Linked DNA regions of Homo sapiens: all the other regions are linked to region 1. Evidence: promoter capture Hi-C in human tissues and cell types (Jung and others, 2019). All regions are on one chromosome and are shown on one strand. Each heading gives the region's core, a stretch centred on a gene start or on the middle of the fragment in contact. The rest is flanking DNA. Distances are from core to core; before and after follow the strand shown. Region 1 holds the start of KLF6 (KLF transcription factor 6). Region 2 has its middle 21 kb from the start of MANCR. Region 3 overlaps LOC105376373 (a long non-coding RNA gene). Region 4 has its middle 26 kb from the start of LINC00705. Region 5 has its middle 47 kb from the start of LINC00703. Region 6 has its middle 38 kb from the start of PITRM1. Region 7 has its middle 33 kb from the start of LINC00703.

Region 1 (4,379 bases), core at 1,101-3,600:
AATTAATCTGGCCCTCTACGATTCTTTGTTGCTCTTCTTAAAAAAATCAGGCGCAACTATTAGTGTTCAGATGCGATGCATATTCTTTGTCACATCAAAGAAAATGATATTTTTTCACCAACTGGTTACATGCTTACTCGTAATAAGGACTTTTGTTTTCAAACATCTACATACTCCTGGCAGCCCACCTCTCCCACACCGTAATAGGGATTTGTGCCTGTTTTGTAAATTTCTGTGTACCAATACCTGGCCATTCATAGGGTGTGAGTAATGTGTGTTCAATGGTCAATGAGCGCAGCAGGATGCCATAGGATCTATTCTATTTGAAATTTAGTGTTCATATGTACCCTGTTTTCAAATCTTTTTTTTTTCTGAAAATGACAATGGCCATTGTACTGTATCTGCATTATGACTAATCAGGTTCCCTCTTGTAAAAATAAACTATATAATCTTCATAGTGCCGGGCAAAGCATGTTAAGAGACAAGGATGAATTTAAGTTCTATAGGAATGTGGATTTATTAAAAAACATTAAGACAATAATTAATTGTCCCAAAGATAAAATGGGACACCCTCACCAGGACGCCCACACGCCTTGCAAAGACAGCCGTCCTGTCCTCCCTGGCCCAGACAGAGCCTTCCCCCTTCATCTCGGGCTCCCCCTGATCCAGCGTGCCTGGCCCTCAGCGGGGGACTTGCTCCACACTCCTGCTTACTTAGGAACTAGCGGGGCCAAGGTCACAAGCGCTAATTACTGAGAGAACCCTGCCCCCAACACAACGGCTGCCCAGATGCTCTCGGCTGCCAGTCACTGGGCCCCGGTCAATGGGCGCTTGGGCAAATCTGTGGATGGTTCAAAACAAAGCCATTTGCATTCCTGGAAACAGAGTTAAGGTGCAGGTCCCCAAGAAGGGCTGGTCCTGGCTCTCAGTTGCTGGGGTAAATGTGATGAACACGAGCCAAGAACACTGTCAATTCACTCTGCATAACCTTCACCGCCCACATACCGCAGGTACAAGACAAACCTCCTTTCTCCACTCCAGACTCACTAAGGTCCCCACCTAGTCTTACAGCCACATGCTTCTGCCGGACCCTCTAAAACTTAACATACAAAACCCTCTAATTTTTTTTTACATAGTCCATTCTTTCAAAATGTTTAATGTTCATTAAACTATTTTGAAACAAAAACTATAATACAGTTACAATTCAGTTTTCCATTTTGGATTTTAAAATGCTCTGGTTCGAGTCTCGACATTTTTCTTAAAAATGAACATTACGGTATATTTTAGGAGATAATTTATATGGAAAAAAACACACACACTAAATGTCGGCTTGCACCTAAATTGTTTACACGTTCATGGGAAAACCTAGCTGTTAACCTTGGTGAGGGCTAAGATCGCCCTCTACAAGATAAACACGTTTCTCCCAATTCCAAGGGGAGCCTGCGTGCTCCCCTCCCCCACTCTGGTGGCCCGGAGGACAGAGGGGACCCTAGGACTGGAGGGGGACGGAGACGGGCTCAGGGATGGAGGGGGACAGAGAGGGACCCGGAGGTGGAGGAGGACAGAGAGGGGTACCCCAAGGTTAGAGAACAGAGGATGACTAGGGGGATGTAGGGAAACAGAGCGGCGCAGAAGAGGACAGTTGGGGACGGGGCGGCCCCGGGCATAGAAGGGGACAGTTGGCGACCGGGAAGCCCCCGGCGTAGAAGGGGACAGTTGGGGACGGGGCGGCCTCGGGCATAGAAGGGGACGGGGGGGAACCGGGCGGCCCCGGGACCGGACGGCCGCCCGCAGGGTGAGCTGCCGGAACCGGGGCTCGCGCGGCGACAGGGCCCGGCTTGGTGACCGGGACGGGCGTGGGGTGGCGGGACCGGGCAGCGGGGAAGAGAGACCGGGACTGGGGACAGGCGACGCGGCCCGCCCCGGCTCTCCCAGCCCCGGCTCCCTTAGCTCCGGCCGCGGGCGCAGTGCAGGGCTCGGCCGCGCACCTCACAGCGCGGACTCCTCCGGCGCGCGGCCGCCCGCGCCTTATATACCCTGCTAAAAATAGCCTGCGAGGCCACTTTCCAATCAGAACGAGCAGAGTTCGAATTGAGCCAATGGTGCGGGCCGTGATGGAGAGTCTCGGTCACGCCAGGCGGGGCCGCTGTGTGTCGCCGCCTGCGATTGGCCGGAGCTGACATCATCGGCGCGCAGCCCCCGGGCCGGGAGCCACGGGATTGGGCCGCGCACGGGGCGGGCGCGGGGCGAGTCACGTGGGGGGAGGGGGAGTGGGGGGAGCCAGGCGGGGGCGGAGGGGGAGGCTGGCAGCGGAGCTTTGAATAGGGAAGTTTTGCAGGGGTTACGTTTGCAGTCAGTCCGGTGTTTGCAAATATTGTGTGGGCTCCGCGCGCTGCGGGCTGCGGGAGGGTCCGGCCGGGCGTCTCTGCGAGCCTGGAGTTTGCATGAAACTTTCACCTGCGCTCCGGGGAGACTTTCGGCTCCGGCTCCCACCGCGCGCCTCGCCGCCCTCGCGACCGCGGGCTCCGTCCAACCCGGCCCGACATGGACGTGCTCCCCATGTGCAGCATCTTCCAGGAGCTCCAGATCGTGCACGAGACCGGCTACTTCTCGGCGCTGCCGTCTCTGGAGGAGTACTGGCAACAGGTAAACGCAGCCGGCCGCGGTTCCCTGCGGGCGCCGGGGCGCGGGCCGGGTCGGCTGTTTGGGGTTCAGACCCGGTGCTCTCTGCGGTCCGCTGGGCCTGGGCCCCGCGCTGTCACCGGGGGAGCGGGCGCAGCGCCCCCGCCGATCGATCCTCCAGGCTGCGATCAGCGTCCGCCCAGGGAAGCCCCAACTCCCGGCACAGCCCGGCCGAGCCCCTGGCACGAGTTCGGAGCCTGTCCCCGCTCCAGACGCCACAGCTGGAGCTTGTCATGGGGACCAACTTGCTCTGCCTGCCAAGGTGTTTTTTTTTTGTTTGTTTGTTTTTTGTTGTTTTTTTTTAACGGATTTTGTTTTTGTTTTGTTTCTTGGTGCTTGTACTTAACAGTTTTTTAAAAAAATCACATTTTGCCCCCAGAACGTAGACCAGCTCTCTTTTATTTTTGTCTTTTTTAAACTGTAGACCATTTCCAATGTGTTTTCTGCTCTTTGGAATGCCTAACATTTCCCCTAGATCTGCCTTATTTGTCTTCCCTGCTTCTCTTGTTGACCAAGAAAAATAAAAATAAAACTGTGTACACCCCAGTGACTTGTCAGTCTTGTGACAATGAGCCCGTCCAAACTGCTTCAAGTCTTAGTTTGGAAAGAAGGACCTCGGTTTCCGACATTGTCGTAGAACTGGAATTTGGGGGCATTGGAAATTTAAGAAACTTACCAGGTCCCCGTGCTTATAGGTAGCATCGCCCGAGGGGAGAGAGACTGACACTCCTCCCATTGTCTCTCCAGCGATCGCAGGAGGGTTTACTGTTGTCTCCCTGCCCTGCTGTGCTGTTTGTTTTTCGTCACAAAGTGAATTGCCAGATCAAATAGAGGCTGTGGGTTTCCAAGCCTCGAAAGCTTTAAGGAAGATGAAATGCAGGGTGTTGCAACCTTCACACGCCTGCTTAATTGTTCACAGTCCTCTCCTGCCTTTTCCCCCTCCCCCTCCTGTTTTTTTCCTCCTCAAAGAAGCTGCTCCCTAGGACGTGATTGAAATTGATCTAAGTAGTTTCCTTCGGGCGTTTGGGATTTGGGCAAACGGCCAGACCTGGCTCTTGGTCGCCTTTGGAGGCTTTTAAACTCTCCGAGAGCTTCGTTCAGGTCCCGGGTGCTCATCAGCGTAATGGAGATTTTAAATTGGCCGGATTATTAAAGTTTAACAAGATCTCCATAAATGTGCTTTTCTTTTTTCTTTGTTAAATCAATAAAATACATCGCTGCTGCCTCTCTTCAGAACGCTGTAGTGTGCATTGTAACTCAGACGCCTGGTTTCGGGGGAAAGGGGAAAGCATGATTCTCCCGTGTGCTTGCTCCCACCGGCTGTGTGCGAGCCTGGGGAGGGGGAGGGATTGCCTGTGGCAGGAGAGAGGCACACTGCTAAGTCAGCCTGAGCCCCTGGGGTAGGCTGCGCTCAGGAAGGTCCCTGCCCGGAAAAATGACGTGCTCACCAGAGCCGTTTGGTGTAGAAACTGAAATCTGTAGAATTGCCAGTAGTATAGACAACCTTATATGGACATGCAGGCAGCTGATCCTCGTGAAAATCAGGGCAGACATAATTTAATCCTAAAATGTTTCCTACCATTTTTCTTTTCCAGTGGCTAGAAAGTTTGAAATGGTGGGGAGAGGGGATGCTGATCTCGGCAGTTGTAGCTTCTTGAAAGGTTGGTTGCGGGGCTGGGGAAGGGGTACTGTCCATG
Region 2 (4,379 bases), core at 756-3,255, 910 kb before region 1:
GGCCAGAAGTGAGAGGTTGAGGTGTTCTGAGGTCTTTCCTGGCACACACTTAGCCCTGTACAGGGGCACAATCTAGATTTCCAAGGGTGAGGTAGAGCTTTTCAAAGTCCTTAAGGTACAACTAATTCCCTATATATATTTTTTAGGCTTTTGGACAGATTCTTATTTGCCTCAATTATCATTGCTACCTCAGGCACTATTCTTATTTTTGCTTTTTTTTTTTTTTTTTTTTCAAATAACACAGGGCATTTCTCACTAACTGAGCTCTGAGGTCAAATAAAGATAAGGCCTGACAAAGATGCTTTTCTTGGTTGCTGTTAGACAGGACAAATGGTTTCAATTCTCCTGGAATAGGGAATTTCAGGGTAATCCGAAGATGGTCTTCCTCTTCCAGAGACTGCCAGGCTTCTGATTTTTAAAACTGCCATACTGCTTATGCTTCTGGTTGTCAAGAGTATCAAGAAACTAGGGAGAGGAGGATGCGAATAGGGCAAGTTTAAATGTCACAAAGCTTTTATGAAGAGTCAGCCTTTTTCTGGAATAAACACTCTGGAGAATGCTGCAAGTCTTTTGTTTATTTCTACAGTTCTGAAAAGGCTGATTGCAATGATTTTTTTTTTCTTTGCCAGTGATCTTACTGTTATTTTGGAGGAGAGGATTTTTGGAGGTCCACTATTTTTTAAGTACTCTCTTTGATAATGTCGATTTATGGTAAGTTTCAAATCAGGTGAAGTGGTTCCTCCAAATTTGTTCTTCTTTTTTAAAAGAAGTTTAACTACTTTACTTCATTTCCCTTTTTATATAAATTTGAGGATCAGCTCTTTAATATCTAAAAAGCATCCTGATGGAATTTTAATTGTTTTTGTATCATATTAAATGTATTTGCATTAAATCTAGATCCATTTAGGGCCAATTAACTTTCTAAAATGAGGTCATCAGATTCATATCTATAGTATATCTCTCCATTTAGGTAGGTCTTCATTTATTCTGTCATCAGTGTTTTGTTGTTCTGAATATACCAATCCCACACATAATTTTAACACCTAAATATTTTATTTTTGTTAGTTTCATTTTATTTATTTTTAAAATTTATTACTTTTTTATTGACAAATGAAAGTTGTATATATTTATGTTTTATAACGTGATGTTTTGAGCTATGAATTCATGGTAGAATGGTTAAATTGAGCTAATTAACATTTTTTATGATGAGAACATTTAAAATCTACTCTTTTAGTGACTTTTAAGTACAGAGTATTTCATCCAACATAATGTTCTCCAGTTTCTTCCATGTTGCAAAAATGAAAGGCTTCCCTTTGTTTTACTGCTGAATAATATTCATTGTGTATATATCACACATTTTCTTTATCCAACTATTGTTGATGAACCCTTAGGTTGATTCTGTATCTTAGCTACTCTGAATATTGCCACAATGGACATGGTAATGCAGCTATATTTTCGAGATATTGATTTCATCTCCTTTGGATATGCAAACCCAGCAATGGGATTGCTAGATCATATAATAGTTCTATTTTTAATTTTTTCTGGAACCTCCATACTGTTTTCCATAATGGCTGTACTAATTTACAGTCTTACCAACAGTGTACAAGGGTTCCATTTTCTCCATATCTTTGCCAACACTTGTCATCTTTTGTATTTTTGACAATAACCATTCAAACAGGTATGAGGTTTTATGTCTTGTGGTTTTATTTTGCATTTCTTTAGTAATCAGTGATGTTGAGCTTTTTTTTATATATATCTGTTTGCCATTTGTATTTCTTCTTTGAAGAAATGTATATTCAGGTTCTTTGCTCAATTTTAATTGGGCCACTCTTGAGTTGTTTGGATTTCTTATATATTTTTGATATTAAACCCTTGTTACATGTAGAGTTTGCAAATATTTTCTCTCATTCTATAAGTCATCTCTTCATTCTGTTTGCTGTTTTCTTCACTGTACAGAAGTTTTTAGTTTGATGTAATTTTATCTGTTTATTTTTGCTATTGTTGCCTGTGCTTTTGGAGTCATATTCAAAAATCTCTACCCAGACCAATATCATGGAGCTTTTCCAATATGTTTTTTTCTAGTAGTTTTAGTTTCAGGTTTGATGTTAAAATCTTTAATCCATTTTCAGTTGATTTTTGTATATGGTGTGAGATAAGGATCTAGTTTTATTGTTCTGCATGTGAATATTCAGTTTTTCAAACAACGTTTATTGAAGATACTGTCCTTTTCCCATTGTGTGTTTTTGGCACCTTTGTCAAAAATGAATTGACATTAAAGGTGCCAATTTATTTCTGAGACCTATCTATATCACTATATTTACAGTGGGTTTCTTGCAGATACCTTACCACCATACAGTCAAGTCTTTTTGTTTGTTTGTTTTAATTCGATTTGTCAATCTTTATTTTTGATTTGGTGTGTTTAGATTATTTAAATTTAATGTAATCACTGATTTGGTTAGATTTAATTCTAACATTTTTATTATTTTCTGATTGTCATTTTTTATTTTTTTATTTCTCTGGTTCTTCCTTATTATCATGGACTGAAGGTTTGAATCTTCCTCAGATTCATATACTCAGGCTGTAATTTCCATTGCTACTATATTGAAGGTTAGGGACTTTATGGAAATAATTAAAGTTACATTAGTTTATAAAGGTGAGGCTCTAGTCCAATAGGACTGGTATCCATGCAAGAAGAGGAAAAAAAACCCAGCACTGTCTCTCTGTGCACACACAGAGAAGAAGCCATGTGAGGACACAGCAAGAAGGTGTCTGTCTGCAGGGAAGGAAGAGAAGGCTTGCCAGAAACCGCAGCTGCTAGTATCTGGATTATGGATTTCTGGCCCTCAGAACAGTGAGAAACTAAATGTCTTTTGTTGTTTAATCCACCCAGTCTGTGATATTCTGCTATGAGAGTCAACATCAAGTAATATACTTGCCTTCATTTTTTTGCTTTTATACATACTTTTAAATATTTCATTTAACATGTGCTGTGTTTTAGCTATATCTCTTTTTACTATTTTAAGTGGTTGATCAAGAAATAAAAATATACCTGTCTAATGTCACGATTTTCTTTCAGTTATTATTTTACCTCCCAACATAGCAGACTTGCAACCAAATAGAATCATTTGGCCTCCTCTTTTTATTACAGTTGCCATGTGCATTACATCTGTCTATTTATCTATCAGTTATCTATCTATCTATATCTATCTATCTATCTATCTATCTATCTATCTATCTATCTATCTATCTATCATCTATCTATCTATATTAAACTGCCCCAGACAAGATTAGAACTTTTGTTTCCTAAGGTCATGTATATTTCACAGCTTTCTAGCAGTAGAAAAATATTCTATTACTTTGACCCAAATATTTACTATTTGTTTTGTTTTGTTTTGTTTTGTTTTGTTTTGTTTGAGAGAGGGTCTGGCTCTGTCCCCCCGGCTGGAATGCAGGGGGGTGCGATCTCGGCTCACTGCAGCTTCAACCTCCTGGGCTCTAGGAATCCTCCTGCCTCAGTCTCCCAAGTAGCTGGGACTACAGGCACATATCACCATGCCCACCTATTTTTTTTTTTTTTTTGTATTTTTTGTAGACATGGGATTTTGCCATGGTGACCAGGCTGGTCTCGAACTCCTGGGCTTCTGGGTTCCTCCCACCTCAGCCTCCCAAAGTGCTGGGATTACAGGCATGAGCCACCAAGCCTGGATGATATTTGCTATTTTTGTTGCTGTTCCTTCACACCGGGATTTTGAAGATTCCTTCTGGCATAATTGCACTTTAGTTCTTTTAGCATTTTTTTAATAGGCCTTCTGCTTGAGATAAATTACCTTAGATTTATTTAACGTGAAACTGTATTTCACAAAACAGTCACCCTCATGCCATTCTCATGCTCTTCTGGCCCTTGCCCATCCTCCTCAGACAGCTTTCCCTTCTGCATTCTCCATTTCTATTGGCAAAACATCCGAATTTCAAACTTGGGAGCCCACTTCTGCTCCTTTCTCTCCCTCATCCATGCCCTAGTAGCTACTATCTCACTATTATTTAGAATGGAAAAGAGCACATCTATTTGAGAAACATTTATGTTAAGTGAATAGGAATTACTGATGTGTGTCTTTGACATTAACCCATGAGCAGTGGTGTGCCTGTTTTATTTTGGTTTTGTTCTGTATCTACAGCTATTACAGCTCTATCTGTATCTACCTATGGCTATTATATTTATCTCTACGTATATATAAAATGTGCACCCATGTGTTATTTATGTAAACATACACACACTCTCACATGTATGTGTGTATCTATGTATGTATGTATATAATATACACACACATATTTATATACTGTAAATCTATTCATTCAGCATCTTATTCTTGGCTGTGTTA
Region 3 (4,379 bases), core at 729-3,228, 900 kb before region 1:
CTTTGTCTCCCAATCCCTGCTGGTATTTTTCCATTCTTTTTAAATAGAACTATAAAGAATACCTAGCATTTCTACTGATGCTATTGTTTACATTAAAAGAAATTAGAATGTCTAAATGGAATGCCAGAGACTCCTTCAAGTAAAATTATATTATTGTATTCATGTATTCATTCATTCACTCAACAAACACTGATTGTGTCACTGGCATGAGTCACATGGTATGGTAAGTGCTCATGCTTGAAGATGGATTAAGATGCAATCTCTATTGTAAAACAAACTATTGTCTGAATGGGAGTGGGGCTATGGTAGCCCAATTTTTTCTTTTTTGCAATGATCCAGGTAGAAGAGTCCTGGAGACAGAGTAGTCATTAAGTCAGCCCTCTCTTCTCTTCTTGAAAGCCCCTCAACCAAGTAGGTAGTACTCTCATGTAGCCACTTGGTGACGTTTGATCTGATTTGTGTCCCTTTTTTTGCCCCTTTTCAGTACTGGCCCATACTCCTTCAAAGTCACCCAGACCCTCCTTTCAGCCATCTGTTAAGGTTACAAAGCAATTCAATCACTCCTTCATGTAGTGACTGTCAAAGATGGTTGTGTTACATGTCATAAATTTAACCATTATTAAGGACTCCCAAAGTGCTGTGCTGAGCCTCAACCAGGTACTTTTAGTGATGCAAACTTGGAGGCTCCTGGAAGACAGTCAATAAAATAATTTTAGATGAGGGGAGACTCATTCTAAACATGATTCATCCCTCAGTACCACGGTGGTAATCTGCCTTTAGGAATCAAGTAATGTCTCATTGAAATTTGAGGACAACGCCGGGATCATTGGCTTATGCCTGTAATCCCAGCACTTTGGGAGGTCGACGCTGGCTGATCGCTTGTGCGCAGGAGTTCAAGACCAACCAGGGTAACATGGTGAATCCCGTCTCTACAGAAAATACAAAAATTAGCCAGTCATGGTAGCATGCACTTGCAGTCCTAGCTACTCAGGGACTGAGGAGGGAGGAGCACTTGAGCCCAAGAAGTTGAGCCTGCAGTGAGCCATGATCATGTCACTGAACTCCAGCCTGGTGAACAGAGCAAGAGTCTGTCTTAAAAACAAAAAAGAAATAAAAGAAAGAAAAAGAAAATTGAGGTTAAATGAATACTATATTGATCCCAATAGTTATTCTTAAAGGTACTGTCTTTCAATATCCTCACCCATCTAATCCATAATGTTTTCTCCTCTCTTTCAAGCATCATTTAAAGTATTTCTTCAGTTTCCAGGGGGCAAAAAGATTACTGAGACTGCTCTGAAGTCCAATAATCATAAACAAAAATACAAGAGTGGCATCACTGCTAGGCAAAATTTATATCCAATAAGGAGACTCAGGCTTTCACAAAAGACAAATTCATGGCTTCCTGTTTTCAAAAAGGGAAGTGAGTAGGTAACTTTCTCTACAGGTGTGTGTCCAGCTGGACTTGAGAGAAGTGTAGCAACCAGGCAAGGGCCAGGGGATGGGGTAGAAACAGAAAGCCCCATTGTCTTCACCTTTGCCACCTCTTCTAATTGAGATCTAAAAATTCTTCTTTTCTCTCATTCACTTCTGGTAAAAAATCCACGTGCACCAGGAAGGCATGACACGTTGATGGAAGTAGCTCTTCATACTTCAGTGTGAATTTAAAAAGCTGATTAAAAATTTAACAAAAGGAAAGAATAAGTAGGGAAGTGCTGGTCATTTGACAGGAGGATACTCCCTGGTAAAAAAGAAGCTTATGGGTATAATAATAAGTGGCATTCACGACAAAACACACAGGGAAGTTGCTTAAGAGCCACCTAGCTCATTTGAACAACAACTCAAAGATCATATTAAATGGTAAGCAGAAGACATTTAATTCCTTACTCGAACAAAAGCTAACATGGCCCATATTTATTTACATGCTTGTACTGCATTTCCAAAATGATAAAAATATTCCCCTTTTGTTGTCAAGATATGAGTGCTTGCATTCAAAACAGGCTTAATGCCTATCAGTCCATTGAAGCTCATTAGCCAAGAGATGATTACTACCTTAACACGAACGATGTATATCTTAGCATGCTTTATTCAGCTAAAAGGAGTTTTAATCCTCATGCATTCTGACTATGATCTGATAAAAGTTTAATGATACATTAGAGCAGATGCTTTAGATTTATTTCTATGAATACCAAAGCAAGCCTTGGTTGAAATAATCTAGCCATTATCTTTTTGGGTCTTACATAGTTTTCCATGACTTATGTTATTATTTCTGTGTTTTTGCAGTTATCAGCAGAAAGTAGTTCCCATAGCTTTAGAATTGGTTATTTGTGTTTGTTGTTGGCCTTAAAATACTGTATTAATTCACATAGGGACACAGACAGATGTATGTTTGGATGTTGAGCTGTAATTTTTCATGAGCTGTTACAATAGAGTCTCATGGCTTCCGCTCGAACTTCATTTCCCTCTTCACAGTTAAAGTGAATATAAAACAAACACAAATGCTTATGTGCAGCAATTTTCTCCCACAAATAGGTCTGCAGTTATCTCATCAGGAAGATATATTGTATTTAAGCCTTTATTTGCCCTCTTTCACACCCAGTCAAGGTGGCTTAGGGAGTATCATTTTATCAAGTAGAATTAGAAGCACTTGGTAAGTTGCTCATCTTATGTATAAACCTGAAATTAACCTGTCGAATAGAAAATAATGAGAAACTGATTCAGTTCATCTGATGCTTATTTCTTGTGACTAACCTATCATTTAAAAGAACTAGTAAAACAGACATTTTTGGCCTGAGTTAGCTATATATTTACAATGGTTTTCTATTTCTTTTTGCACTTAAATATTTAGTTCCCTTACCTTTAAAATAGAATGTATTTTAAGAAATATTCTGGGAATGAAATGTAGAAATAACATATTATATACACTTCTGTACTTCTGCTGAAGTTTATAATATTCTGCTTCTTAAATACGGTTTATTATTTTATAATGTTGTTATTTTCACATGTATATTTTACGTGTATATCATGATAGTGTTTTGTGGATAAAAGCCAACATTGCATTCATTTGGGATCCTTCTATCACAAATAGCACAGCACATAATCAGTATATAGTAAATATATAAATAAAATTTATAAAAAATATATTATCCTGTGTAAATATTATATGCTAGGTTCTGAATAAATAAAAAATACAATATTCAAACTGAAAACTGAATGATGACATTCATTAACTGTCTTGCTTTTGAATCCATAAACAAACAATTTATCTGAAGACGTTAGGTGATGGCCGGCCCTAGGGCCGTGACTTGCAGAGTGTCCTTCTTTGAGAGACTTTCTCATTGGAAGCCCAAAACACTGTCCAGGGAAATCAGAGGCCACACCCAGGTCCTCAGAGGCAGACATAATGATCTCTCTGTTAACTATGCATTATAGCCATTGTACCTACTCCTAATATTTTTGTGAAATTTATTTGAATGATCGATGAACCTTTCAGCAAAACCCAAAGAAAAGAGAGAATTCAATTTCTAAAGGAAAATCATACAAGAGAAAATAATTTAGAAATATTTAACAAGATGTATTTACCTGACTCTTAAACTCAGACCTGAAAAGAAGAAACACTCAGGTTTTTTAGTTCAGATGCTTTGGGGGAGCACATACACTAAAAAGTCACATACTGTTTTGAGATAACTTTGATCTCATCAGAAAAACATTTGGTGCCGGGAGCGGTGGCTCACGCCTGTAATCCCAGCACTTTGGGAGGCCGAGGCGGGCGGATCACAAGGTCATGAGATCGAGACCATCCTGGCTAACACGGTGAAACTCCGTCTTTACTAAAAATACAAAAAATTAGCCGGGCGTGATGGCGGGAGCCTGTAGTCCCAGCTGCTCCGGAGGCTGAGGCAGGAGAATGGTGTGAACCCGGGAGGCGGAGCTTGCAGTGAGCCGAGATAGCGCCACTGCACTCCAGCCTGGGTGACAGAGCGAGACTCGGTCTCAAAAAAAAAAAAAAAACCTTTGGGAGAACGTAGCTTCTTCTTGTTCATAGGCTTGTTCAAAAGCTTTTGCTAATGATAAGTGAAAAGCAGTATACTTGATTATTATTTAAACCTCTAGCATGCCTTAAGACAAAATTAGCAATGGGGTAGTGAGGTTGTGAAGTGGCAATGGAGGTGATGCTGGTAGAAGAAGTAAAGGAGAGGAACGAGAGGAAGAGAAATGGTTAATGTGTAATGAGCACATATTTTCTGATGGTCATTGTCGTGCTAATTTAGTCCTCCCTGCCATCCTGTGCGATAGGTTCTTACTTTTGTTATCTTCAATTAATGGATGAGGAAGCAAAGTTTGCAGCAGTGACCAAGTCACTTAACTCAGGTCATTTAGCT
Region 4 (4,379 bases), core at 1,172-3,671, 840 kb before region 1:
TTTAGTAATCGTATTTTCCCAGGAAGGCCTAGAATCATCTGTTTCTTCAGATTTTCAAATCTGTGGCATGGGCTTGCCCCGTGCATCTGGTAGGCCACCTTATAATTCTTTCCATTTGCTCCGGTTCTGGATGGTTTCTCTTGCCGTGTCTGATTCATAACTCCATCCCCAGCCCCCTGCAATCTCCTTCACTGGCTGGGGGCTGCCTACACAGAGTGGAGCCTCCTATAGGTACCTGGACTACTCCCTGAGAGGCGGTTCATGCAGAGAGTTCACATCAAACAGCTCCTTCTCCCAACATAGACCACAGGAAACAGAAACCCTAGACTGCTGCCCCATCAATCTAATTTAAATGGAGAACTGAAGAATGTTGCACAAGGCTGGAAGCTGCCCTTTACTTGGACACGTAAAGGTCCCATGTCTAAGTTCTTCCCAGCATTGTCTTCATAGTGATTTTAATTTTCTTTGCTGGGGTCCACGCGGTCTTGGCAATGGCAAACTCCTCCTTAGATACTTGTTCCTCATAAAAGCGCACTCATTCAAGCATTTCTTATAAGACCAACCATCTCTTCCTTTTTCATTTCTCTCTTATGAAGCCATTGTGATATTCTAAATTGGTGTGAAGCCATGAACGATTCCACGTTTCCATGGAAGAGCACATGCACTCCTCACATGTGCAGGTCTCACCTCGCTCCAGATTTACAGTGTGCAGTATTCATAAGGTTTCGAAGTGGAATGTACTGTAGAGCATTGCAAGGTTATTTAATACTTGAGAGCCTACCATTAGCCAGCTAAGGAAACGAAGGTAAGTCTAAATGGAAAAGTTGTTCCCAGACTTCAGGGAGCATATGTTTTTGTAGGAAACAGGCAATAAAAATAATCAAACCTTGGTAGTGTGCAAAGTGTTAGAAAGAAAATAAATAAGATGATGTAATGGTAGTAGAGCAGGGAATAAGCCAGTGTGCACTCTACAAGACGGTCAGGAGCAGATGCTCAAAGGGTGAGAATACCAGCCATTCATATCATGAGCTGTGGCTGGTGTTCCCACCCTTTGAGCATCTGCTCCGGCAGTTAAGGAGCTGCAGGGCAGAGTAGTTCACACCAAGTGGGGAGGGTAGGCAGGACTCCACTCTAAGTGTAGCGGGAAGTCTTTGATGGGAGGATTTTGTCTAGCTCAGTCTCATTTTACTGCTCCTAAAGAGGGGATTCTGAAGCAGAGGGAAGGGTAGGAAAGTTGCTAGAACCAGTAAAAAAATCACTATGAGTGGGCAACAATACTGGCAGTGAGGAAGAGGAGGAAGGCATTGACTGTAGAAATATCTTGGAGATGAATCCTACCAACCTTGATGTTTAATGTCGGACTTAAGAAACGTGCATGGCATTCACTAAGATGTGAAAGGTATGGCTGTTTCAAAACAGCAGTAACTCTTTGAGACAAGGTATGGCTGTTTCAAAACAGCAGTAACTATTTGAGACTCATCAGAGGTCCTAGGCAGCAAAGTAGGCAACAGAATTGGGTGTTCTGTTTTTTCATCAGCTTGGGAGTGACATTTTGCTAAGCCCAGCCTTTAAGGTTTTCTCTCAGGCTATCTTATAATCATCTTCTTCATTTTGCCAATTTCAAAATGGGAAATTGTCTTGCTTTCTACTGGCCATTTCTTTATGAACCCACAGCACTTTATAGTCTTCTATTGATACCATCTCTCTTTGTTGTATTACATACACTGAGCACATGTCTGTACAGATAGGTTAAAATAGCTGAGGCTTTTTTTTAGATAAAAATATTCCAGGAAAAAGAAGGGATCCAGATAAGTTAGTATTAGAATATCTGCAAAGATTTACTTGTTAATTTTTATTTTAATTTTTATCTAATTTATATAACTTTACGGGCAGATGTTACATTCAAATTTTGTGTATAATAGACAAGAAAACTTTCAAAAACACATTATGGAGAAAACAATATAGTGTTATTAATTTAATATTTTTTCAAGTAAGAACATTAAAAGCATAAAACTACAATTTTGTGACACCATTATTTCAAAAAATTAATGATGTTTTAATACCTATGAAGGAGGAAGGGCGATAATTTCTGAAGACAGTTTTTTTGTTTGTTTGTTTAATTCAATAACTGTAAATTTATTTTTAAAAAAGTCATAATGTTGCTCTTATTTTGCCCATTTCTCTCTTGATCTGTGAAAACATCCTCATAGAACTTTAGTCCAAGGACAGCAATTGGTATCAGAGCGTAAGAGATGGAAGAAAACAAGTGACACATTCTTTACTTCTGCTTAGAACTGCTGATTTAGAGTATCATAATGACAATACCCTATTTTCTTCTTCATTCTCATTATTATTATTATTATTATTATTATTATTATTATTGAGATGAAGTCTTGCTCTGCCACCCAGGCTGGAGTGCAGTGGTGCAGTCTCAGCTCACTGCAACCTCTGCCTCCCAGGTTCAAACAATTCTCTTGCCTCAGCCTCCCGAGTAGCTGGGATTACAGGCGCTCGCCACCAAGCCTGGCTAATTTTTGTATTTTTAGTATTTTACTTATAGAATTCCATGATGCCAAATTATATTTTATAGATAACAAATAGAGAGCTGTGTCCCCTGACTTGTCACCTCTACAGAACACATTGAGATAACAGGAAACGGCCATATATTCTGGAAAGAGAAGAGGCTGAATAAAGAGAGATGAGGATCCTTGGGGGAGAGACTTGAGTGACCACAGTGGGAAAACATGTCACTCCTTCCTGGGGAGAAAGGTCAGGTGTTTGAGTGTGCGACCCCTGAGTTTCACAGTAAAGGGGTCTAGTTTGGATGCAGTTGAGAAAGGCCACTGGCTACTGATGTAGCCTGAGTCCAAAGAGCAGAAAGTGAAGCCTGTTAGTTACAGAGATTGCTGAGGACCCCAGAGGGGTGCCTCAGCATTGCAGGACTGTGAGTGGAGCCACTTCACAAGAGCAAAAGCATCAAAAATGACCATCTTGAGCTGCCCTGAAGTGCCAGCATCTGCTCAGCTTTGTATATGATTACATTGCATCCTCATGACAACCCTATAAGGAGGTCATAATAACTTGCTCATTATTGAATGGTTTTGTATTCTAATTAGATTATCTAGTTATCACTTAAGAATCTGTCCCAAAGCTTCTTATTGTTTCTAAGAGCACAGTTTTGAAGTATTTTCAAATAGGAAGCTTCCTGGCATATGATTTTCCTAAGGACACACATTTAATGGATCCTAGGGTAGAGTGCAGCAGAATAAAGTTTGAGCTGCTTGTGCAAAGCTAAGTGTGCAGGATATGCAGGGCCCAGAATCAAGGTAGGCCTAGCTGATGCCTCCTTGCCTTTAATTGCTCCCTGTGTTCTGCCTAAATCATTTAGACTGGGCCTGTACAAGAGGAGTGAATTTTATGATGAAAGGGAACCAATGACTTCCTAGCTTCATGTCCCCACCACTGAATGAGTGTGGCCCAGCTATGCCCACCCCTAGCCTGCAGGGTGCAGTTGAGGTAGCGCCAGCTCCCAGGCTGTTGTTGGGAGCATAGGCTCCAGGCAGAGGAGAAATGGAGAGGAGGAGAGGGAAGGGGAGCCCGGAACAGGACCACCTCCACATGGACTTAAGGAAGGAGAAGCCCTATGCCCATGACCTTGCTGAAGAGGACAAGTGGAGGGTATTTCAGGGAAGAAGAGAGGCTGAAAGCATCCCTACAGGAAGAGGAGCCAATGCCACAGTCATTGGAAGCCGTTGCTGCTTCCATTGTCCCGTGATGGTGAGAGGTCACCCTGGGAAGACAGCCCATGCACAGCCCCTTCCTACACCCTCTTCCCCACTTCCAGTAGAGATGTGTTCTTAGGAAAACAAACCTTGAGGAAGCTTCTGTATACAAGGACCTAAAAAACGTGCTGTTAGAAAGAATATGAAGCTTTGGGATGCTAACTAGACAACCTAATTAGAGTCTCAAAATACACATTCATCTTACTGCAGGAGATGTCCAAATGCCTGGTCCTGTGGTCCTGTCCAGTAAGAATGAAAGAGAAGCCAAGAGTTACCAATTGCAAGGCTTAATGCCAGGTGTACATTTGTGCATCTGTCCATTGAATAATTACAAAAACATATGTGGAATTACTTACCTTTTCCAAAGAAGAAAGCTGGAGCTTGGATAGGTTATAAGTAGAAATACGTAGGATCTTAACTAGAAAGTGAAGGAGTTGGCCTTCAAAAGCTGCTCTGTCTGACCCAGGAGTCTTTTCTGTGTGGCTGCTAAAGTCATCCACACTGTGTATTGCCCAGTATGGAAATTTCAAGAATTTTTTGCTTTGGATGAGGAATCCGTAAAAATCCTAATGACCCCTCATATGGTTTGGCTGTGTC
Region 5 (4,379 bases), core at 522-3,021, 650 kb before region 1:
TTGATTACAACCCTCATGGGTGACTTTGAAGGGTTCAAGACTCCAGTGGAAGAAGTAACTGCAGATGTGGTGGAAATAGCAAGAGGATTGGAATCACAAGTGGAGGCTGAGGATGTAACTGGATTGCTGCTCTCTCAGGAGAAAACTTGAATGGATGAGGAGCGGCTTTTTATGGCTGAGTAAAGAAACTCACTTGAGATGAAAACTTCTCCTGGTAAAGATGCCGTGCACATTGTTGAAATGACAGCAAAGGATTTTGAATATTCTATAAACTTAATTGATAATGCAGCCCCAGGACTGGAGAGGCTTCACTCCAATTTTGAAAGAGGCTCTACCGTGGGTAAATGCTATCAAGCAGCATCTTCTGCTACAGAGAAATCTTTCATGACAGGAAGTGTCCATTGAGCCAGCAAACTTCATTGTTGTCTTATTTAAGAAATTGTCACAGCTACTCCAACCTTCAGCAGCCATCAGCATTGAGGCAAGACCCTTCATCAGCAAAAAATTATGACTCACTGAAGGTTCAGATATTTGTTAACATTTTTCAGCAATAAAGTATTTTTAAGTTAAGGTATGCACTTTTTTTTTTTTTTTTTTTTTTTTTTTTTTTTTTTTTTTTTTTTGGCCATAATGCGATTGCAAACTTAGGCCACAGTATAGTGTAAAAAAATAAGTTTTGTATGTACTCGTAAAATCAAAAAAATTGTGTTACTAACTTCTTTGCAATATTTATTATAATGACCTAGAAACGAACCTGCAATATCTCCAAGATGTGCCTGCAAGCAAATTGTTTCTTAAGGCTTTTTCTACATAGAAGTGAAATCCATAAGTAAAGCAATTAAACAGATTATTAAAGCAAAAAATGAGCTCAAAATCATCAGATTTTTGAGTCAAAGGCATATTTTTTAAGCTTGACTATGCAGGTAATTACCCCATTTCTGTATTCTGCTTTGTGAACACAGATATTTACTTAAATAGATGTGCTTTTTGTTCATATACCAGACGAGTAAACATCACACTCTCACACACATTATTGCTTCTACCAGAATAAAATTCCGTGTGTTACCATCGCCTTAGGAACACCGAGTTTGAAATATCTGCACCATCTGGAACAAATGGCTTAACTTCCAGCTGTATTAACTTAGCTCTTCATCTTGTCTAAGTGGAAAAGCCGAAGGTATAAGCCTTTCCCTTGTATAGAGTGTGGGATAGACTTGGAGGTTTAATCTATACTCTGTCTATACTTGGGAAGCCTAGACTGAGCTAAAGGTATTTCCCCCCATGTCCAAAGTAATCATTTGTCATTTTTTCACAGCAGGATTGCTTGAATGTCTGGTCCAGCTACGGCCATCTCTCTCGGAAGGGATTACATTTCTGCGGAGCTTCAGAATTCCTGCAATGCTTTGATCTTGCTGAATCTATGGCATGATTGTAACTGTGAGTCATGCTACACGGTTTACTACAAAAGGGATCATGATGGAATGGTGGACTATGGGGAAGGGAACATTGATTCTGAGACTTGTAACTCTTTTCAACATTTTGAAACAGAGATTATTTTACTTATCTTGGACACGAAGGCAGCATAACATCGCAGCGAGGAGCGTGGGCTCTGCATCCATGATCCTAGGTGGGAATCCACCTTCTGCAGCTCACCAGCTCTGTAACTGTGGGCTCACCTTTTCTCTTCTTGGCACCTCCTTTGCCTGCGCTGTGAAATGAGGACAGGATTAACACCGATTTCATGGAGATACTTTGAGGGTTAAAAAGGCAATTTAATGTAAAACATTTGGAACAGTGACTGGTTAAAAATGTAAGCATTCTATTGATAGTAGTTGTTATTAGAAAAGCTACTTTTTTGTTGTCTTTTCACGTTATGCTATTCTAGAATGAGTTAGTCTGCACAGACTCTCAATACACATCCCTCAACTAAAAAAAGCAAGGGAGTGGGATATCAAAGTTTTCGAACATATGCATCTAGTTGTAATTTTTTTCTTATTTGAGTCTCACAACTTTCTGTGATATAAGTATTTTTACTCTTATTTACACATGAAACAACTAAAAACTATGCAACTTATGTAGAATGCTTTATATGCTATGTATAAACACTGTATCAAAATTATATTAAGAGATATAATTCTACAATTCCATAGGAGATAAGCTTACCAACTCCAATGTATGTTTGTCAAAATTAAGTTATAAGAGTATTATCAATTACCCATTTTATGATCATGTACAAATTATAGTTGGACACATTTCTAACAAAATTAATTAAATGAAATAAAAAGTCAATTAAGCAATCAAAAATAGTTGACTTTCATTCTTGTGACTTTCATTGTTGATGGCGTGATTGGGCCTTTTTAAAAACACAATTATTTTCTATCTTTTAAAAAAGGTTACATTTTAAGGTCAGCACATGGGTAGAAGATGGTTGAGAGTAAAAATAACCCTTTACAAAACCATAAATAGCCCCTACAACATCATCAATATACCACATTTAGAGTATTGCACTCTGTGGAGAATTCTTTTGGCACATCAAAGTTTGAACTGGAGAGGGAATGAGATAATTTTACATGTGGATAATTGGACATTGAAGCCACTCTGCCTTTAGGATAACAATAAGATTTTGAGTGATGGTTTAGGGGTGGTTGTGAGCTCCAAGTGTCTCTCCCTGCCAGCAGGATATGTGTTATTCTAATATTGTCTGTATCATTTTCATGCAAGGTTACAGACTTTTTAGTTACAGAAAAGATTAAAAGTGATCACATAATAACACTTCGCATAGATAGTATTACATTCTACATGCTGGGTATATATTAAATGCTTATATGACAGGACTCAATTTTTTTTTCTGATATCTCATGCCTTTTTGAATTCATTCATCCATTCCTTAAACATAAGTTTAATAAATTCAAGATAATTCTGCTAACTGTGTCTCATCTTTGCTTCGTATTAATTTAACAGTTTTACTTATGGACTGAAATATATGTCTACCTGGCTTGCAATGAGCGGACTGAGATTTTATAGCTACTGCATTCTTGGTGCTTGGTTCCTGTTGGTGTGTCATGCTCTGATAACCCTCATGATTTGGGTTTAGAGGTATTTCTCCCATCTGTCATGGCTCCTTTAGCAATTTCGTGTTTTATCTGCCAGCGTCCACCGTGTGTGCCGGCTCAGCTTCTGCGACACAGGCAGCTGATTGAAGCAGCAATGAGCTGAGGGCTCTGCTGTTTTGAGGGTGTGTGGAGAAATTGAAGGACCGCATCCAAACGCAGACACCAAGGTTGTGTGCCAAAGGAAGTCTGGCTGAAGATGTTTTGAAACTCTAAAAGCAGGCTTTTCAAAACTCTGATGCTTATAAATAAATGAACAGAGTTCACATATCACGTGTACATGTTATAGGATATGCTTTACAATAAAAAAGATAAAAATTTTCTTGTAATATGGAGGCCCTAACCATTGTTTTAGAAAAAGTCATTTTAAAAGAATTAAGGTTCTGTTTTGTTCATGGAATCAGCATGTACTTATTGAATACGTCTTGGCTGCTAGGTACTGAGCTAATTACTAAGGGGCCACAGGTTAACTGGGAATGGTTCATTCCTTCAAATCAGCCTTAATTAGTGGGAGGGCTTTGAGGCCAACCTGACCATGAAAAATCAAAATACTGTGAAAAAACAAACGTAAATAAAAGACCTATGGCCAGTCAAATCAGTGATTTTATTCATGGGTGGAAATGTTCATGGTTTCCTCAACTTCTTCATTTGTCCTCATTCCCTGATATTAGGATACTATGAACACTGCAACCAAGACAGCATGCTTATTTTATTCAAGTCCAAGAAACAGTATACATTCAAAAACTAATCAGAAGTAAATAGTTTTGAGCCTGATATAAGGAGTATAATTGTGCTTCCTTTGTTAAACAGTGTTTCCCAGTTTTCTGGCATGTGTAAATTGATATTTTTTAGTAATACTCGTGTTTTTACTTGCATGTATGTGAACTCCATGTTGAGTGAAACTCAAGAACTAGTCTGCATGGATTTTGCTCTCCTATCTGCAGCAAATATGTGTACCACAGCTTTGTGAAAAATAAGTTCTGTAAGCCCAACATATTTTTTCCTCTATATACTGTTCTAAGTCTCATAAACAGAACTAAGAGGAGTGATGATGCTTGCATTTGACTTCCAAGGTTGAGGTTATACAATCTAAAACAATGTGTCAGTGAGTGGATGGAGACACTTATTGAAATGGAAATGCTTTAGAAACACTATTTGGTTTGGGGAATGCTAGTGATATAGAGGAACTTTCAATAGAGGCCAGAGGGAAAAAGGGCCATTTAGAACAACAAGGACACAGAAGAAAAGGATGACTCCATTTGAAGCAGC
Region 6 (4,379 bases), core at 1,243-3,742, 570 kb after region 1:
AGATTTGGTGCAGTGCCTGGCACACAGTAGGTGCTCAATAAATTATTTAAAATATTTTCAATAAGTTTTATTCACCTGTTAGTTAATAGGAGAATTCATGTTGGTATAATTATAATCAGATATCTTAGTGAAAAAAGTGAAAACTCAGGTGACAAATAAGCAAACCCTGAGGGGACTCTAACCAGCAACAAATCAGAAAGCAGGGTTTAGTGAGAGTAAGTTTCCTTGTGGACAACATGCCTGTGAACAAAGGTGCTAAGTGTGCACTTCTGCTTTTAAATGAGCAAAAATGCATACATGCAACTATTAGAAATTTAAAATGAGTTGAGGAACAAGAAAACTGATTAAAGAAAAAAATTGTTATTGAATTCATAGATTGTATGCAACTACTAAAAGGAAACTGGGTATATCAGCCTGAAAGTTTACTTCAAAAATGAAATGTCAATCAGGCGCAGTGGCTCATGCCTGTAATCCCAGCACTTTGGAAGGCCAAGGCAGATGGATCACCTGAGGTCAGGAGTTCAAGACCAGCCTGGCCAACATGATGAAACCTCGTCTCTACTAAAAATACAAAAAAATTAGCTGGGCATGGTGGCGGGCACCTGTAATCCCAGCTACTTGGGAGACTGAGGCAGGAGAAATGCTTGAACCCAGGAGGCGGAGGTTGCAGTGAGCTGAGATCATGCCATTGCACTCTAGCCTGGGTAATAACAGCGAAACTCTGTTGCAAAAAAAAAAAAAAAAAAAAAAAAAAAAAAAAAGGTCTCCTAAAGGAAACAGGACCAGATGTGCTGGACACCTGATCAGGTATGGTAGACACTTAACTCAGTGTGGTAGACACCTGACCAGGTATGGTAAACACCTAACTAGGTATGGTAGACACCTGACCAGGTATGCCACACACCTGACTAGGCATGCTGGACACCTGACTGAGAATGCTTTATCCTGATGGACAAGAGTTCATTCCCCAGAGTCCATCTTCCTTCTCAGAGCTGATCCCCTGGTAAGGCATTTAAACTGTGTTTCTAAGTGGATAGGGTATCTTCCATGTGACTTCAGAAAAATCTAAAATGATAATAATGGCTGGTATTATTAAGCATTTGCTATGTGCCTTGCTATGTGCCAATGTCACAGACATTGTTCTGTTTAATGCTCACAATACTTGTATGAGATAATTTCTTACAAATGGGGAAACAGATTTGAAATGGGAAAACAACTGTTTAAATTCCCATGAACAATAATCAATTGATCTAAGCCCAGGTCTGTCCCAAGTCTGGCTGTCAGCCCTGTCACCTCCTGTCCCAAACAATATCACTGGTGTGAGCCCAAGGTTACACCTGTATAACAAGACCCTAAATAAGAATGTTGTGAGCTATACAACAGGAGGCGATTTGAGGGGCTGGTGTTAGCAGTGCTGCAGACACTTGGAGACGATAGTCATTGGTGGCGTTGTGCCACAGGAAAGCATTTAAAGGTTTAGAGATGCTTTTGCTTGATTGATAAGGCAATATTCTCAAACTTGATCTCATACACCATACTAATACATCTTTAGATCAGTATACCCGCACATCCATGGTACACATGTCCAAAGTGTGTTTTCATAAAATGCAAACACTGAATGTATTCTTGAGGCTGAAGTTGTATATGCCTCTTCATGAGAAAAACAGGATATTTTTTCTCTTTAGTGCTTGAGGCAAGCTTGAAATACAAGTTAATAGGACCCAAAGTATCTCTATTTTATGTTATTAAAGGTAATCTTCTTTAATTAACATAATCAGAGGAAAATAGTATACTTTGGAGACCAAAAAAAAAAGTGGCATATCTCAGATCAAAGGTTTTTCCTGGTGATTGTGTTTGATTGTCTTTTGAAAACATGCATCCTAAGAGTTTCTAGAATGCAGCAGTTGGAATTTTTACTTTATTTACTTTATATACTTCTAATTCTGACTTTTATATCGTAAGACAATTGGTGTGTCTGTTTATAATGTTGGGAATGTGGAAGGGGAAAACTGTATATTTTCTTAATTTTGCATGAATACATTTATTTCTAGCACTGTAATTACTGTTTTTGAACAGCTTCACTGAGAACATAGCATGCCACTGGCTGGCCCCCAAGTTTCTGGTGCCTTCTCAGCCTCATCTATGAGAGGATAAAATAAAAAGTCCTGGGCACCCAAGCGCATGATCCTGGTGTATGCGTGCTTTGAAGAACAGCAGAAGTCCAGTAGAAGTTGGACTTCGCATACAAATGTGCAAGGTCTGTCGAATGAAGCTTTTCTCTCAGTGGTGCAAAGAAAACCCTCGTGAAAATATGCATGATATGCACACAAAGGGCTTGGCGTGGGCCCAGCCTGTGGTGCACCTGGTGGGGAACAGTATTACTGCCAATACTGCACCTGAACAAAGCCATACACTTCCGTGGATGTCTCAGGAGAGCTGCTGTCATCTACGGAGAGCAGAACCTGAATGAAAATAAGGCAGAGGAATGGAGAAGTATTTGTGGGCATGGCTTGTGGGGTCCAAGGGCAGTGGGGTCTGGAGGATGACTGTAAAGACGACTGCCTGGGAGGCAGACTAATTGTTGAATAAGCTCACTGAGGCCGCCCACCACCCCCACGCACACATTGCAATGATTGGCTTGATTTTGAGCTGGAACAGGAGGCTGCCATGATGAAATGCCACAGGCTGGGCGGCTCGAACGACAGAGGTTCATTTTCTCACAGCACTAGAGGCTGGAAGTCCAAATCAAGGTGTCCTTAGGGTTGGTTTCTGGTGATGACTGTCTTCCTGGCTGGCAGATGACAACCTTCTCACTGTGTGCTCACATGGCAGAGAGAGACAGAGATGGAGACACAGCTGGAGAGAGACAAAGATGGAGACAGAGACAGAAACAGAAAGACAGAGACACAGAGATAAAAATAGAGACAGCTAGACAGAGACAGAGAGAGAGACAGAGAGAGGAGACAGAGAGAGGAACACACAGACAGAGATACATAGACAAAAATAGAGACAGCTAGACAGAGACAGAGAGAGGAGACAGAGATAGAGAGAGGAGACAGAGAGAGGAACACAGAGACAGAAATACAGAGACAAAAATAGAGAGACAGAGACAGCTAGATAGAGACAGAGACAGGGAGAAAAACAGAGAGACAGAGACAGGGAGAATAACAGAGAGACAGAGACAGAGAGACACAAAAATGGAGAGAGACAGCAAGGAAGAGATGAGACAGAGAGCGTAACCTCTTCCTCTTTTTTTTTTTTTTTTTTTTTTGAGACAGAGTCTCACTCTCTCCCCAGGCTGGAGTGCAGAGGCACGATCTTGGCTCACTGCAGCCTCCGCCTCCCGGGTTCAAGCAATTCTCCTGCCTCAGCCTCCCGAGTAGCTGGGACTACAGGCACGTGCCACCACACCCGGCAATTTTTTTTATTGTTAGTAGAGAGGGGGTTTTACTGTGTTGGCCAGGATGGTCTCGATCTCTTGACCAAAGACTGCAGTCCTATGAGAATTAGAGCCCCACTCCTAGGACCTCATTTACCCTTTATGACCTATTTAAAGATCCTATCTCAAAATAAAACCCCACTGGGGTTAGGGCTTTCACTTATGAGTCAGGGGACACAGTTCAGCCCACAACCAGGTGCCAGGGACACAGCCATCCACATGGAATTTGTTGTTCTTCAGTTCTGCTTCTGCTCCCAATCTTTTGATAGACGGAGGACCCCTCCTCAAAATAAAACCACCTTGACTGTCACGGAGAAACTCTGTGCTGCATTATCTTTACTAAACGGTAGCTCCTTTTGAAAGGAGAAGTGATCCCCTCTCTCTGTGGGAAACACCCTAAATACACGAGGGGCACGGCGAGGAAGGCCAGCGCCAGCTTCCTGTGTATCCGTGTCCACGGCAGCCACTCAGGCTCCAGCCAGCTCGTCGGAATTGGGGCCGTAGCTTCAGAAAGGCGAGAGGTGATTGTCCCCACCTCTGCAGCTGACCTCGGGGTCCTCGGGCCCAAGCCTGCCAGCTGTTGCTCTGCCCCAGCAGAACCACGCAAAGGGGTGTCGTCTACATGCTCACCACACACACAGAGGATGTGGGGGTGCTCAGGGTGAGGCACAACCAGGAAAGTCACGCCCTCGGAGGACACAGAGTCGTGAGACCTCGGAGGGACCCAGGGCACCCGTCAGAGGCTGATGCCCTGAGAGAGGAAGCAGCGCACCCGCAGGAACAAGGCCGAAGCGCCAAGCCTGGCACTCGGCCATCAGGACCCTCTCACCAGGGAAAAGGAAGACCTGTCACAGAGCAGTGTGGGGCAGCGATGCTGTTTCCAAAACAAGTTCCGGCCGGGCACGGTGGCTCTTGCCTGTTATCTCAGCACTTTGGGAGG
Region 7 (4,379 bases), core at 652-3,151, 570 kb before region 1:
TGATATCATAAGTACCAGACCCGAGAAGCATCCTTTTACATTTTTCAATCAGCCACTTATCTAAAGAGAATTCATATCTTTCCCCGATCCTCCCTACCTCCTCCTAGAAATCTCAGCCCTAGCCAGGGACATGAGTCGAAGGGCTTTTCTTTCTCTCTGGCATTATTATAGGAGGACAGTGTGAGCGCTGCAGCAGGTCTGAAGTGAGAGGAGAAATGAGAGACCTTTGCTCCATGGCTGGGCAGAGGCAACGCAGTCCACGCGGATGTCCCTGCTGGGCTATTGTGTTCTGAGATATGGAACTCGGCAGTGGTCGTGATGCCCCCAATCACAGTGGAATTTAATCATTTCTTATCAAAGCATTGTCTCTTCCAGATATTTTTCTCACTCTAAACAGCCGGCGGGAAAAAAAGAAAAGATAAGAGGAAGAAGGGAGCTGAGAATCTTTTGTGAAAGGTGAGGAGGTGAGAAGGTGAGGAGGCACCAGCCACACTGAGGAAGGAAGGGCTGTTGCCAAGAAAAATGCTTCTCCATCATAACTTGTCCTTTCCTCTGCTTTTCCTCCAGCTCTTTTCCTCCTGAACACCACTTAGTGATTGGCACGAAGCACATTTTACCCCTCCCCAGAGGCAGCCGACCTGCAAGACCTGCAATAGTCACACTGTGTTAAAGAGCATCTACGCGGGAGGTAGTGCTAACCTCAACAGACTTTCAGAGGATCCAAGTCTGTGTGCATTCGGCAGGAACGCAGGTCTGTAAAGTGACAACACAGCCATTTCATAATCACCCATCTGTAAGACATTTATCAAGAGCCTGAAAGCCTGATAACTTATCTCCCCTCTTGAAAGGGGTATCCTAGTCCAGAGGATCCCAAGACTTCTCGGCTTGCCAACCTTTTAATTCAATCCCCAGGATGATTTCTTGATGTTTAGCAAAGCTACTCACCAGGCTCTGTGAGTGGAAAACTCTGGGAAGTGTTCCCTGAAAGTGCTCAGACCCTGGCAGAGAACAGGGTCTTTGTGCTGTGAACTCTGATCCTGTCCTGTGGGCCTGAACCTAACACATCCTATAGTGTCCACCAAGATTTGCATCAACCATGTCCAGGTCCTCTGCAGATCATCCCTGGGAATGCTCAGGCCTTTGGATGTGCTTTCATAGCTGGTCTTTGCTTTCCTCTTGTCTCTGGGTCTCCAGAGGGACTCCACTGTCTTGCTCAGCTCTCTAAGCCCAGAGTCTGCACAGTGCCTGAAAGAGAGCATGTGCTTAGTGAATATTTATTGTGTGGATAAATTGATGACTACATGAATTAGAAACAACCACTCAGCCTTATAGGGTAGCTGTATGTGGTAGGCAGAATAATGTGCCTCCTCCCGAAGACATTGTAGCAGAGGAAAAAATGTATTTTTCTTACGCCAATCTTAAGTTCACTGATTGAGACCCTGCAAACTAGACTGATAAAACATAGATTAACAAGACAAAAACAATCAGGAGTTTACTAACACTCACATCCTACATACACATAAGAAAACCCAGTGATGAGTCACTCTACTGGGTGGTTTGAACTTGGGCTTCTATAGCATCTTAACAAAAGAACAATTAATTATTACAGTGATGGCAAGAGAAAGAAAACGGACATTTAGTTTCCAGAGCAGCAAACTGGGAGATAGTAAACATATGAGGCTACAAGGCAAGGGCTAGTGAGTGAGGTTTGTTAGGTCAACTTCTGTGGACCCTACAGGATGATAAGGGGCTAGAGTTTTTTCGGTGATTAACTCCTGTCCTTCTGGGTAGAGAGAAAGGGAGACACCTTTACAAATGATGCCCTGCCTTAGGCATATGGGAAGGGTTTGAAAGATTTTCTTGTATTAGCATATTCTCAATTGTCTTTAGCCCAAAAGAATCCTTATGCCAAAGTGGCATATTTTGGGGTAGCATGTTCTGTACCTCCAAAGCTTGAATTGATTTTATTTCTTCTCTGACTGTGCAAAGGCACTAAAATGCAAGGATGCAAATCAAATCTCAGGCTGTCTCTAAGACACAGGCCAAGGGACAGCTTTCTGAATAGTGAACTAAGGGGATATGTTAATAAAACAAACTGATACAAAAACGTATGTTCAGAGATAATTTATGTGGTAGTTACATGACAGCCTCAAAACACAAGATTAAGATAGAGAAACCAAACCAGGAACTAATAAGAAAATCAACCATTTTCAGGTTCAACCATTAACTCCAACAAGGATAAAATTGCCAAACAAGTTATTTAGCATTGTGTGAGTGAAATATGTAGATTTCCATATATCTTGTTATCTGGCTGACTGACTTGAAGTCATTTTAATTGAGTCAAGCCTAATCCATGCAGTTTTTTGGAAGTAGAATCCAATAGCCAGGGTAATGTCAGTTGCTATGACAAGCATCCATTCAACTATACAATGGCTCGGAAAAAAAATGAGGTCTGTTTCTCATTCCAAGGTGATGGAGGTCTATTTATCGTTCAAAGAATGTGCAGAAATTGGTGTTCCTAGTCAATGGATGGCTCTTTTTAAGGAAGTGACTCAGAGACCTGGGTCCTTACATCCTATGGTTCCACCAGCTTCAACACTTCCAAGGCTGCCATGCTCCTGTGCATGAAGGTGGTGAAGAAGAAGATAGCATTGGGAATTGTACATGACAGAGTTTTATGCCTGAAAATGGCGAGTGCCACTTCAGTTCTCATTTTATAGGGTAGATATATGTCACATTACCATTTAACTGCAAGAAACCCTAAGAAATATGGTTCTGCCATTTTTCCGGAGTGAATGGAAAATGAGTGAGTAGTTACCTGGTGTCTGGCACTAGAAATCAGGGAAGTATCTGTGATATACCCTAGCTAAAGCCCTGGGAGTTACCACCTCTCACAGTTGATTGCAGTCTTGAGCAATCACATATCATGAATATTTACAACTAAATGAATAATTGAAGTTCACCTGTTTCAAACCTTCCTTTGCAGATAAAAACAAAGTCTAGAAAAGCGAAATTCGTCTTCGAAGACCATGCAACTTAGCTAATGACAAAACTAAAACAATTTTCAAGTCCTAAATTTGTACCTAAATATTCTTTCAACCACAATTTGTAATCCAGTATTTGATTTTTTAATCACAAGCTCTCTCTTTGGGAATTATTAAAGTGAGTAATCATAAATCACTAGAAGTTTGGGAAAAGTGATAAAAACTTAGGGATTATGTCTGTTAAAATATATTACAGGATAATGCCCATCAATCAACAAGGGAAAAAAGAAAAGGTGGTATATATTTATACCATGGAATACTACTCAGCCGTAAAAAGAAACAAAGTAATAGCATTCACAGCAACCTGGGTAGGATTGGAGACCATTATTCTAAGTGAAGTAACTCAGGAATAGGAAACCAAACATCGTATATTCTCACTCTTAAGTGGGCATTAAGCTATGAGGAAACAAAGGCATAAGAATGATATATTGGACTTTGGGGACTGACGGGAAAGGGTGGGAGGGGGGTGAGGAATAAAAGACTACACATTGGGTACACAGTACACTGCTCAGGTGACGGGAGTGCTAAAATCTCAGAAATCACCACTAAAGAACGTATTCATGTAACCAAACACCCCCTGCTCCCTAAAAACCTATTGAAATTTAAAAAAATTAAAAAACAAGAAAATTCCATATACATAACATAAATTCGAACATTTTTAAGTGCACAGTGTTAAGTACATTCACATTCTTGTGCAAGAAAACAGAAGTAATTAGATAATAACAAGTGTTGGTGAAGATGTGGAGCAATTGGTATCCTCATATACTGCTGTTGGGAATGTGAAATGGTGCAGTAACTTCGGAAAACAGTCCAGCAGTTTCTCAAAAAATTAAATAAAGCGGTACCATATGACCCAGCAATTTCACTCCCAGGTATGTAGCCAAGATAAATGAAAACACTTGTCTACACAAAAACTCATGCAAAAATGTTCTTAGCAGCATTGTTAATAATAGCCAAAAGATATGAACAAGCCAAATGTGTATCCACTAATGAATGGATACATAAAATGTGATACGTTGATATAATGAAATATTATTCAACCATATAAAGGAACAAAAAACGAATACATGCTACAACATGGACGACTCTCTAAAATATTATACTAAGTAAAGGAAGTCAAACACAAAAGACCACGTTATATGATTCCATTTATATGAAATGTCCAGAGCAGGCAAAACTATTGGAGTCAGCAAGTAGATTAGCGGTTGCCTAGGGCTGCTGGGATTAGAGAAAAATGGGAGCGTAACTGCTAAAAGGTACTGGGTTTTTTTTTAAGTGATAATAATATTATTAAATTGATTGTGGTGATGATTGCACAACCTTGTGAATATAATA

Evidence for each region. Contacts are between HindIII fragments. The study calls those that stand out against the background at their distance.
Region 2: a fragment that was not itself captured here is called in contact with the fragment with the promoter of KLF6 in region 1 in 1 of the 25 tissues and cell types used here (dorsolateral prefrontal cortex).
Region 3: a contact is called between a fragment that was not itself captured here and the fragment with the promoter of KLF6 in region 1, in 2 of the 25 tissues and cell types used here (dorsolateral prefrontal cortex and heart right ventricle).
Region 4: a contact is called between a fragment that was not itself captured here and the fragment with the promoter of KLF6 in region 1, in 2 of the 25 tissues and cell types used here (heart left ventricle and stomach).
Region 5: a fragment that was not itself captured here is called in contact with the fragment with the promoter of KLF6 in region 1 in 1 of the 25 tissues and cell types used here (IMR-90 fibroblasts).
Region 6: a fragment that was not itself captured here is called in contact with the fragment with the promoter of KLF6 in region 1 in 2 of the 25 tissues and cell types used here (H1 embryonic stem cells and dorsolateral prefrontal cortex).
Region 7: a contact is called between a fragment that was not itself captured here and the fragment with the promoter of KLF6 in region 1, in 1 of the 25 tissues and cell types used here (IMR-90 fibroblasts).

Annotation. Positions count from the first base shown.
Region 1 is chr10:3,783,180-3,787,558 of GRCh38, reverse strand. It overlaps KLF6 (KLF transcription factor 6), which reads left to right and starts at 2,350. Exons shown (of 4, transcript NM_001300.6): 1 at 2,350-2,646. The coding sequence starts at 2,545. RefSeq lists silencers at 1,441-1,500, 1,681-1,960, 2,211-2,810, a promoter at 1,612-2,549 and enhancers at 2,416-2,971, 2,972-3,528, 3,529-4,084, 4,153-4,222. The HindIII fragment of the contact is 14,996 bases long and covers 1-4,379 here.
Region 2 is chr10:4,696,674-4,701,052 of GRCh38, reverse strand. No RefSeq gene overlaps it. Among named protein-coding and RNA genes, the nearest start is that of MANCR, 21 kb to the right of the region's middle. The HindIII fragment of the contact is 6,880 bases long and covers 1-4,379 here.
Region 3 is chr10:4,680,410-4,684,788 of GRCh38, reverse strand. The region is part of intron 3 of LOC105376373 (a long non-coding RNA gene); the gene reads right to left. Among named protein-coding and RNA genes, the nearest start is that of MANCR, 4.5 kb to the right of the region's middle. The HindIII fragment of the contact is 6,523 bases long and covers 1-4,379 here.
Region 4 is chr10:4,627,696-4,632,074 of GRCh38, reverse strand. No RefSeq gene overlaps it. Among named protein-coding and RNA genes, the nearest start is that of LINC00705, 26 kb to the left of the region's middle. The HindIII fragment of the contact is 4,312 bases long and covers 266-4,379 here.
Region 5 is chr10:4,428,594-4,432,972 of GRCh38, reverse strand. No RefSeq gene overlaps it. Among named protein-coding and RNA genes, the nearest start is that of LINC00703, 47 kb to the right of the region's middle. RefSeq lists an enhancer at 814-2,013. The HindIII fragment of the contact is 5,254 bases long and covers 1-4,379 here.
Region 6 is chr10:3,208,436-3,212,814 of GRCh38, reverse strand. No RefSeq gene overlaps it. Among named protein-coding and RNA genes, the nearest start is that of PITRM1, 38 kb to the right of the region's middle. The HindIII fragment of the contact is 4,743 bases long and covers 121-4,379 here.
Region 7 is chr10:4,349,100-4,353,478 of GRCh38, reverse strand. No RefSeq gene overlaps it. Among named protein-coding and RNA genes, the nearest start is that of LINC00703, 33 kb to the left of the region's middle. RefSeq lists an enhancer at 1-457 and a silencer at 1,528-1,822. The HindIII fragment of the contact is 6,417 bases long and covers 1-4,379 here.